3 separate regions of the Homo sapiens genome follow, and regions 1 and 2 are each linked to region 3. The links are contacts of gene promoters, found by promoter capture Hi-C in blood cells and fetal thymus (Javierre and others, 2016). All regions are on one chromosome and are shown on one strand. Each heading gives the region's core, a stretch centred on a gene start or on the middle of the fragment in contact. The rest is flanking DNA. Distances are from core to core; before and after follow the strand shown.

Region 1 (2,804 bases), core at 88-2,587, 540 kb after region 3:
CTTGATTTCCTAGAAGTCTCTAATAACTCTGGGTTCAGAAAACCCTCACTTTCCTCCCCTTTTCTTCTTTTTCTGTGTTTCTTATGCTTATTTCCTTTACCATCTCCTGGAGCGTTTTCACTCTCCTTCTCTTTTGACTTTGTATTATCCTTCTGATTGTGACCATCTCTTGCTGAAAGCTTTTCTGGATAGTTGCTACCTATGTTTCGACTTCTATGACTTTGCCCACCAACATAGTCTTCTCTGCGGCCTCTTGTGAAGGGAGAATTCCTGATGTTAAGTGGCAAAAATCTCTCTGGAGAAAAGTTCTCTCTATTTGCTGAGGGTCTAGGCTGTGCTCCAGCAGCATAACCTTTATAATATTTTTCATACCACTCTCTATATTTTCTCTCCCATTCTCGGTAGCGTTCTTTTTCAAATGGGTCTCTAAAGTCAACACTTCTCCCATAATATGCTTTCATGTCATATGGTGGTGGAACTTCTCTGTATCTATTAAAATATTCACGTTCTGTTTCCCCTTGAGGTACATTACGTTTATTAGGAGACTGTCCCCTAAACGCTTGAGGAGATCTTGATCGTGAATGATAGCGTCTGTAAGGGGGTGACCTTGACCTAGATCGATGATATCCATGAGATCTAGACCGTGAACGGTAATTGCGGCTCTTGCCTCTGCCTCTTCTGGGGTATGGAGGTGACCGTGAATAGGAACGAGAATGTGAGCGGCTGAATGATCGAGAATAAGAGCGTGAACGTGTTGAACCAGATCTTGATTTAGAATAAGTATATGAACTTCTTGAATACGAAGAACCACTATAGGGAGATTTAGACCTAAAAACAAAACAAAACAATAGTTGATAGTTGAGAAATACATACAAAATAAAACACAGACTCTCAGATTCTAGCATTCTTTCCTCACGGTTTCATCTATCTTTATATCAAATTTCATCTTAGATGATTAAAGAGGCACAGTGACCTCTACTGGAATGGAATAAAGTACACAAATCGGAGCAATCACTTGTTACAAAACAAAAGTGAAGTCTTAACAATTAGAGTGAAGTGCATTAATGTACCGTGAGTTATATGAGCTAACTAACATTAAACAAAATGTCAATTAATTTTAAATTTCACTTCCTATCTGAATATTGAAGTAGGAGTCTGTTTTTTGTCCTATACTGGCCAACAGCCTAGTTTTAAAAGAAACCACATTTCAAGTGTAAGGCTAAAAAATAAAGTCTTTTAAACAAACTTCCAGGGAATTTTTATAATTCACTTTTTCTATCAATAAAGCGATCTGTATTCTACTACTACTTCATAATTACGCAGGTTAATGTTCCAGCAAGAAGCTGTAGCCTTATGGTAAAAGGGTCCTGGGAACTGTTTTTTGGCTATTCCCCTATTTCTTTCCTTCCAAAAACATTTCCCAATTATTTGATACTATGAATAACTTTAAGGGACAAGGGCAATTTAATCCCCACAACTGTTAGTTCTACACAATAAAATTTACACTGAGACATTATTTCAATGAACAGATATTGGGAAATAAGCTACATCTTCACTTCTATACACCTAGACCGAATCAGAAAAATTCCTAAGTGCAATGTTCTTTATATCCATAGCTAATCCCTGGATATTCAAAGTCCCGTTTGTAATTCTGTTGTGAAGGCTTGCAAAACACTAACCTGGAAAATGAGCGCCTACGCTCCTTTTGAATCTTTTTGTATTCCATCAATTCCTTAGCAAAATCATTTGTAAACTCATCTAGCTTGGACTTTTTCTTTTCCCTAGTAAAATAAAGTTAAAGAGTGAAAGTTAACAAAAACCATTTAAGAAAACTAACAAGACAAATGTAATTAGATCATGAATGAAATGAATGAAATTGCCATTAGTTTTCCACTTTAAAACTATAAACTAGGAATCCCTGAGAAGTTGCTTGTATGGCTTTGGTTTAAATTTTAGGTGAATTTCTCATACTAACTGGAAACACTGGAAAACGTTTCCAGACACCTATTTAATGTTATTATCAGAAAATGAAAAAAGTGTATAATAATTTCAAATTAGAATACATACTCTTCTTTTAGTCGTCGCTGCTCTCTATAGAATTCTTCCCTGGACAAAGGTGGTGCTTGTGTTGTTGGGATGGTATTTGAATGAGCTGTCTGCACTCCTGATGATACCCAAGGTGTTGATAAATTGGCAGGAGCTGGAGGAAACCCTGGAGGAGGGACACTATACCCAGCGGGTGGTGGCTGGCCAGGAGGAAACTGAGGAGAAAACTGTGGAGGAGGAACACCCGGAGGGAGAGGAAGTGTATGGGGAGGAGGCGGATACAAAGGAGGTGGTGGAACAGGTACAAAGACTGGAGTTGCTGGTAGTGACGGGCCTTGAGTCCTCTGTGATCTTTCGCTGTGGTGTCGCCCACGGTTTATACTTCTGGAAAAATAAATTCCAAGATATTACTTCTTCAAACTAAAGTCATCTGAGACAAGTAAGCTTATCTCTTCTATCCATAATTATTTTCAAACTTAAAAACAGTGGAATAGAACCAACTATTCAACTAGTGTAGCAACATTAGTACAATTTATTTGTAAAAATAACTCTACAACATAATTTTTAAGGCCATGTCTCGACTGAGATGATGCAAGTTTATAGGACCTTCTCTACACGGAAATATTGTATTTAAAAGTTCTCTTTTATGAAGTTCAGACTGATTATCACTCCACTAATTACTACCTGTTACTTCCTAAACTGTCTTTTGAAGGCACTGACAGGTTAATGCTGCTATGACCTAGCTCTCCCCAAAAGCT
Region 2 (2,711 bases), core at 69-2,568, 560 kb after region 3:
TACCTCAAATTTAGAAAAGCAAACAAATGTTTCCTACATATAGCAAGGTGTTCAGAAATGAGCAAAAAATGTTGACAAAGAATGGTTTAAAAATGATTAGGAATTTGTATTACTAAACATCAATAAAAATAGTGACTCTTGGTAAGATACTAATGGTAAAAAAAAGTCTGCCACTTAAAGTCCTCACAAAACGGACTGATGCAGACCGTAGACATTAAAATTAACCCACCTCCCTGTACCTAATTAGGGGTCTTGTTTTGGGAAGCAAGGATCTAAAATCTTTTATGCCAATTATATTAGCTTTTTGAAGTTAAAGAATCCTATAAAATACCACTCTGATATTTAGTTAGCAAGAAGAACATCCAGCTTTGGGGTATCAACATGGATGGATGACTAAAAACAAGACTGGGGAATATGGAAACAGCCATCCATTCTTGATTAGAGTTCGCTTCCATTACCAAAACTATACATTTACTTTACTAATCAGGATAAGAAAAATTTGGCTTAGCGCCTCTATTTACTTTGCTTTTGTGAATGTGTACAATCCACGTGACTCTAAATCTCCTAAGATGGGCACTAATTATGCTTGATGAATATATTCTCATCTTAAATGCCAGCAAATGTACCCCAAGCAAATAAATGATGGGGACAACAAGGTTATCTAATATCTCTATTTCAGATAATTCTACCTAAAAATTAAAGCCAATTTTAAAGTATTAAAAAAAAAAGAAAAGAAAAGAGAAACCTAAATAAGCTTAAATAAACTGCTTCTTATAAATGTAATACAGACATGCCGGAACACACAAGGCTAAAAGAATGTTAACTTTATTTATGAACATGTGATTTGTGTTTATACACATGCTAATAAACAAAAAGGAAATAACTGTTTTCAAGAAATAAAACTTCATCTGAATTAGTTTAAATACTATATAAACTGTACTTTATACAAAATGTGTTACATTAACTACTACAGTCACCAGGATAGTCAATCTAATTTATGCTAGCATTTGGATACATAAAAATCAGTTTTAAACCAATCACCAGCAAAACATAAGCTTGGACAGTTTTTACAGCATTATGCTTAAAAAAAAAAAACAAAAAAACAAAAAAAAACACCCCATATCCAAAAAGAGGAAAAAAAAACCCCAAACACTAAGACTTTTGATCTTAGAATCACTGTATTTAGTTCCACAAGAACTAAAGGCCATATACTCTAAAGAACAAGTCCAATGTTCAGATATTCTATATTATCATGTTTAAGATCCAATGATCCAAGGTTAGTGAAATGCCTCATATACAAAGAGCAATAGTATTTAAAAAGTATATAATGTGAAATAGCAAGCAATACCCTTGAATTCTAAATGAAGATTTTAGACATCTTGCATTGTGTACAATATCAAGCCTGGGCATTAAAATGTTTAGAGAACCATTACATTTACAGAACCCAATTATGATAGACCTGTGTTATGAAACAGATGCTTCACCCCACAACTTAGGAATGCTGCTACTTTTTACTTAAGAGCTCAAAGTTAAAATGGTATCACAAATTAAGTTAATCTGTGATTACAAAAATTAAGCTTAACTTTCTTCAAACCAGTTATCCTGGTTAAGGGGAGTTACCTCTGATAAGGTACAGCTTTCAATGGCCTAAAATTAACGCAGCATTTTAGTATAAGAGGGAAATATTTTAATTTGGACATCTGCACTAACTAGATAGAAGTGGAAGATCTCATTAAACTTTGAAAACAATATAATCAGTTTATATAAACTCAAAATCACTAAGACACTTATATATTCATAGGGGGCCCCAGGTTCAGGTTTCACTTTATAGTACAGATGTAAACAAAAGAAGGAGCTCAAAATGCCAAATAAAGCAAGACTAAATAATAAAGCTGCATCAATGGTCTCTGGAAAGCTCTTTTCTATGATGTGTTTGAACTTGGAGAAAGCATCAAACTTTAATATAAGCTTTGCATGTTGCTAATGCGTTTTTGGAAGCCATAAATCAGGCAGGAAAAAAAAAACTAACAAAAACTAAGTGATACAACGTGAAAATGGCAAAATATACACTCCAAACATTTTTTATTGCAAGAAACAAAAAGCACACAACAGCCTGTACATACATACAAAATACTAACTATAGACAGACAAATGTAGAACATGTCATCATGTTCCTTAGTGTAAAACCTAAACGATCTAAAAAGGATCATACATTAACTGTACAACACAGTGTCATACAGGGATAATGCTATCATATTTAATATGAAACAGTGTTACGGGCACAAATTACCCATTTCTACAAAATAAGTGTGCAAGTGATGCCACATATTATCCATATTCAACTGAGCTGTCATCAAAATACATTTTATTTACAATATGTACTATGATCAGTTGGATATTAAGTTCTAAAATGATTTACTTCACTGCTACATTATAAAGGTAAAAGCAATGTGTAGAAAAAGTGTGAGATTGTGTTTTTACATACTGCTTTTGTAGTTGCCATCGCTGGTTCAGTTCGACTTCTAAAACACAAAATAAAAACAAAAATTAACATTAGCTATTTATGAATTTTTGTGCTAATAAATTTTAACACATTATCTTCAATAATACATTTTTAGGAACCTAATTTTCCTTTGGTATAAATATTTAACAGCCAATTTCTGAATGAATAAATTACTCTGATTAATCTTTACCACCTTTGAGCAGTTTTA
Region 3 (2,757 bases), core at 7-2,506:
AGCTAATATTTGTATTTTTAGTAGAGATGGGGTTTCACCATGTTGGCCAGGATGGTCTCGAACTCCTGACCTCGTGATCTGCCCACCTCGGCCTCCCAAAGTGCTGGGATTACAGGCGTGAACCACCGCGCCCAAACTCTTCTCACCTTAAACATCACTGACAAAATTACAAACTCTAATGGCACTGCCGTATTTGTCAGCACTCAACACAAAAAAATCATAATTATATATTTCATAGGTAATTATTTGCTTCCTGTCTCTCTTTTCCAACAAAGCTGTGAGTTCCAGTATGTCTGACACCATGTCTGTCTTGTTCTTGGTGTATTTCCACCATCGAATTCCTACTAACCACTGCAAAGTAAAGGCCTGGCACAAAGTAAGGTCTCAAAAAATTTTGTTGAATGAAAGAATAAATGGTGGACATTCAAGCCTCAAGCTTTCTCTTTCTCTGACACGTACCTCTGCTGGCTACGCCCCCATCCCCACCACCACACCCTTAACAGTGGAGACTTAGTGCGGTACTGGCTCTGCAAAGAGATATTACTTGGCTCTGGGTGGGTTATTTCCCCTCGTCATCCTGAGTTTCAGGTGCACAACAGGGATCACACCAACCCCCTAAAGAATGCAACCTACAAAAGAGAGAGAACCTACACCTCTCATCCTCGTAACCCATCGAGGCTGGAGCTACTATTTGCTTCATGTCTGTCTTTCCAGCAGCGTTTAGCTCCAAGAAGCCCAAGGCCTCGTCTGTCTGGCTCAGGGGCCTGCTCCCATCGACGATACCCAGGCTGGCCCCCTGCCTGGCTCACAGCAAAAGCTCAGAAACGATTCGTTAAATAAATGAAGCCCTGCTCCGTGCACTTCACAGGTGGGAAGCGAGGGTCGTGCGAGGCGGGGGCTGCATCCCTGCCAGCCTTGAGCGTATTCTTCAGATGCAGGCCCACCTCCCACCTAGGCCCGCGCCCCAGATGCCGGCCCCGAACCCCGCGCCCGACAGGCACCTCTTGCACAGGGAAGCATCTTCGCAGGTGCCGCGCACGCCCTCGTCGTCTGCGTCGCAGCTCGAGGTGGAACAGCAGGAGGTGATAGAGGATTCCCTCTGCCTAGTGGCCATGGGCGTGGAGGTTCCTGGGAGCTGTGTCCGCCAGGGACATGGAAGCGGGGTCGACGGGCGGCGGGGGACGGCGCGAGCCACAGGGAGAAAGCAACAGAAGAGGGTAGGGCCCTACCTGGCTCAGCTGGCGCGGCTCAGTGACGCCGCCCACGCCGGCTACCCCAGCAACCTCTCCGCTTATTGGCTCCTCTTCCGAGTCGCTCATTGAGCAATTCTCCTGCCCGCTCAGCCTACGAAGTTGCTCATTGGATAATTATTTTGGCACCGCCCACATAACCCGGAAATTTGACGATAGGAAAAAGAAACTAAACAGTAGGAGAGTATCGCAATCCTTTCTGGGAAGCGTAGTCTTAGGTGTCTGGAGAAGTCGCCCGGTTTCTGCTTGCTGGTCGCGAAATTTTATAGCTATAATTAACTCAGGGCGGAACAGCTAGCAGAATCCTCAGCGTTCGGGCAAAGGGCAGAGAATCCAGCCAGAAGCAACATGTGTAAGTTGTTACATTCAGTCCGGGCTCAGTGTCATTCAATTTTACAAAATTTTGTTGTGTGCTGACTCTGCCAGCGACTGTGCTGAGGGCTTTGCCCCCAAAATTGCCTTCGAAATGTAGTGAGGGGGGCGGGCGTAGTGGCTCACTCCTGTAATCCCACCACTGTGGGAAGCCGAGGCGGGCCGATCACCTGAGGTCAGGAGTTCGAGACCAGCCTGGCCAACATGGTGAAACACCGTTGTTACTAAAAGTACAAAAATTAGCCGGGCGTGGTGGCGGCCGCCTTAGTCCTGGCTACTCAGGAGGCTGAGGCAGGAGAATCGCTTGAACCCGGGAGGCGGAGGTTGCAGTAAGCCCATGTGGCGCCACTGCATTCCGTCCTGAGCGACAGAGCGAGACTCCGTCTCAAAAAAATAAATAAACAAATAAATAAAAGAAAGAAAGAAAAGAAATGTAGTGAGGGAAGTAGTGTGTGGAAAAGTAATACAATAGGAAGCCATGTAGCAGCGATCATAAATGAACTAGAGCTACCAGGTAGCAGCATCAATGGCTGAATCTCAGAAACACGATGTTCAGTGAAAGAAGGAAGTCTAACAACACTTTTGTAAAGTTCAAACCAAGTAAAACTAATGTTGTTTAGAGAAACGTACATATATGGTAAAATACTGTACAGAGAAGGCAAGACATGAGAAAAAAAAATAAAAAAGAATCAGGATATTGGTGATCTTTAGGGAGCCGGGAGGGTAGCACACAAGAGGGGGAGGGAGAGGCAGGGAAGGAGCACATAGACACATCCTCAGTTTCTCACGTGGGAGTGGGTTCACGTGTGTCTGTTTCATTATGAGGCATATTCAAGATGTTTTGGATTTATTTTGTACTAAATCTAGTACAAAATATATGTATAAATTCAAGATGTACTGGGGAAGTCGCCTGGTTTCTTGCTGGTGATGAAATTTTATAGCTATAATTAACTCAGGGCAGAACAACTAGCAGAATCCTCAGTGTTCGGGCGATTGGCAGAGAATCCAGCCAGAAGCAACCCTTGTAAGTTGTATATGTATAATAATGTTTAATATACATTATAAATTAAAAATGTCTTTGTATATTCCATTTTGTTATCTGTCAGTTGTTGGAAGCAGGAAACAGATATACTTT

Evidence for each region. The method cuts DNA at HindIII sites, captures the fragments that hold promoters and counts their contacts. A CHiCAGO score of 5 or more calls a contact.
Region 1: a fragment that was not itself captured here is called in contact with the fragment with the promoter of LCMT1 in region 3 in 1 of 17 cell types (endothelial precursors); the score reaches 5.1 in endothelial precursors.
Region 2: a fragment that was not itself captured here is called in contact with the fragment with the promoter of LCMT1 in region 3 in 1 of 17 cell types (naive CD4 T cells); the score reaches 5.6 in naive CD4 T cells.

What each region holds. Positions count from the first base shown.
Region 1 is chr16:24,566,769-24,569,572 of GRCh38, reverse strand. RBBP6 (RB binding protein 6, ubiquitin ligase) reads right to left here. Exons shown (of 18, transcript NM_006910.5): 15 at 2,068-2,430; 16 at 1,680-1,781; 17 at 1-828. Among named protein-coding and RNA genes, the nearest start is that of RBBP6, 29 kb to the right of the region's middle. The HindIII fragment of the contact is 2,311 bases long and covers 182-2,492 here.
Region 2 is chr16:24,548,756-24,551,466 of GRCh38, reverse strand. It overlaps RBBP6 (RB binding protein 6, ubiquitin ligase), which reads right to left. Exons shown (of 18, transcript NM_006910.5): 3 at 2,486-2,522. Among named protein-coding and RNA genes, the nearest start is that of RBBP6, 11 kb to the right of the region's middle. The HindIII fragment of the contact is 522 bases long and covers 1,058-1,579 here.
Region 3 is chr16:25,110,241-25,112,997 of GRCh38, reverse strand. It overlaps LCMT1 (leucine carboxyl methyltransferase 1), which reads right to left and starts at 1,256. Exons shown (of 11, transcript NM_016309.3): 1 at 1,002-1,256. The coding sequence starts at 1,114. LCMT1-AS1 (LCMT1 antisense RNA 1) reads left to right here and starts at 1,443. Exons shown (of 3, transcript NR_120306.1): 1 at 1,443-1,602. RefSeq lists enhancers at 949-1,108, 1,199-1,528, 1,306-1,833. The HindIII fragment of the contact is 2,890 bases long and covers 439-2,757 here.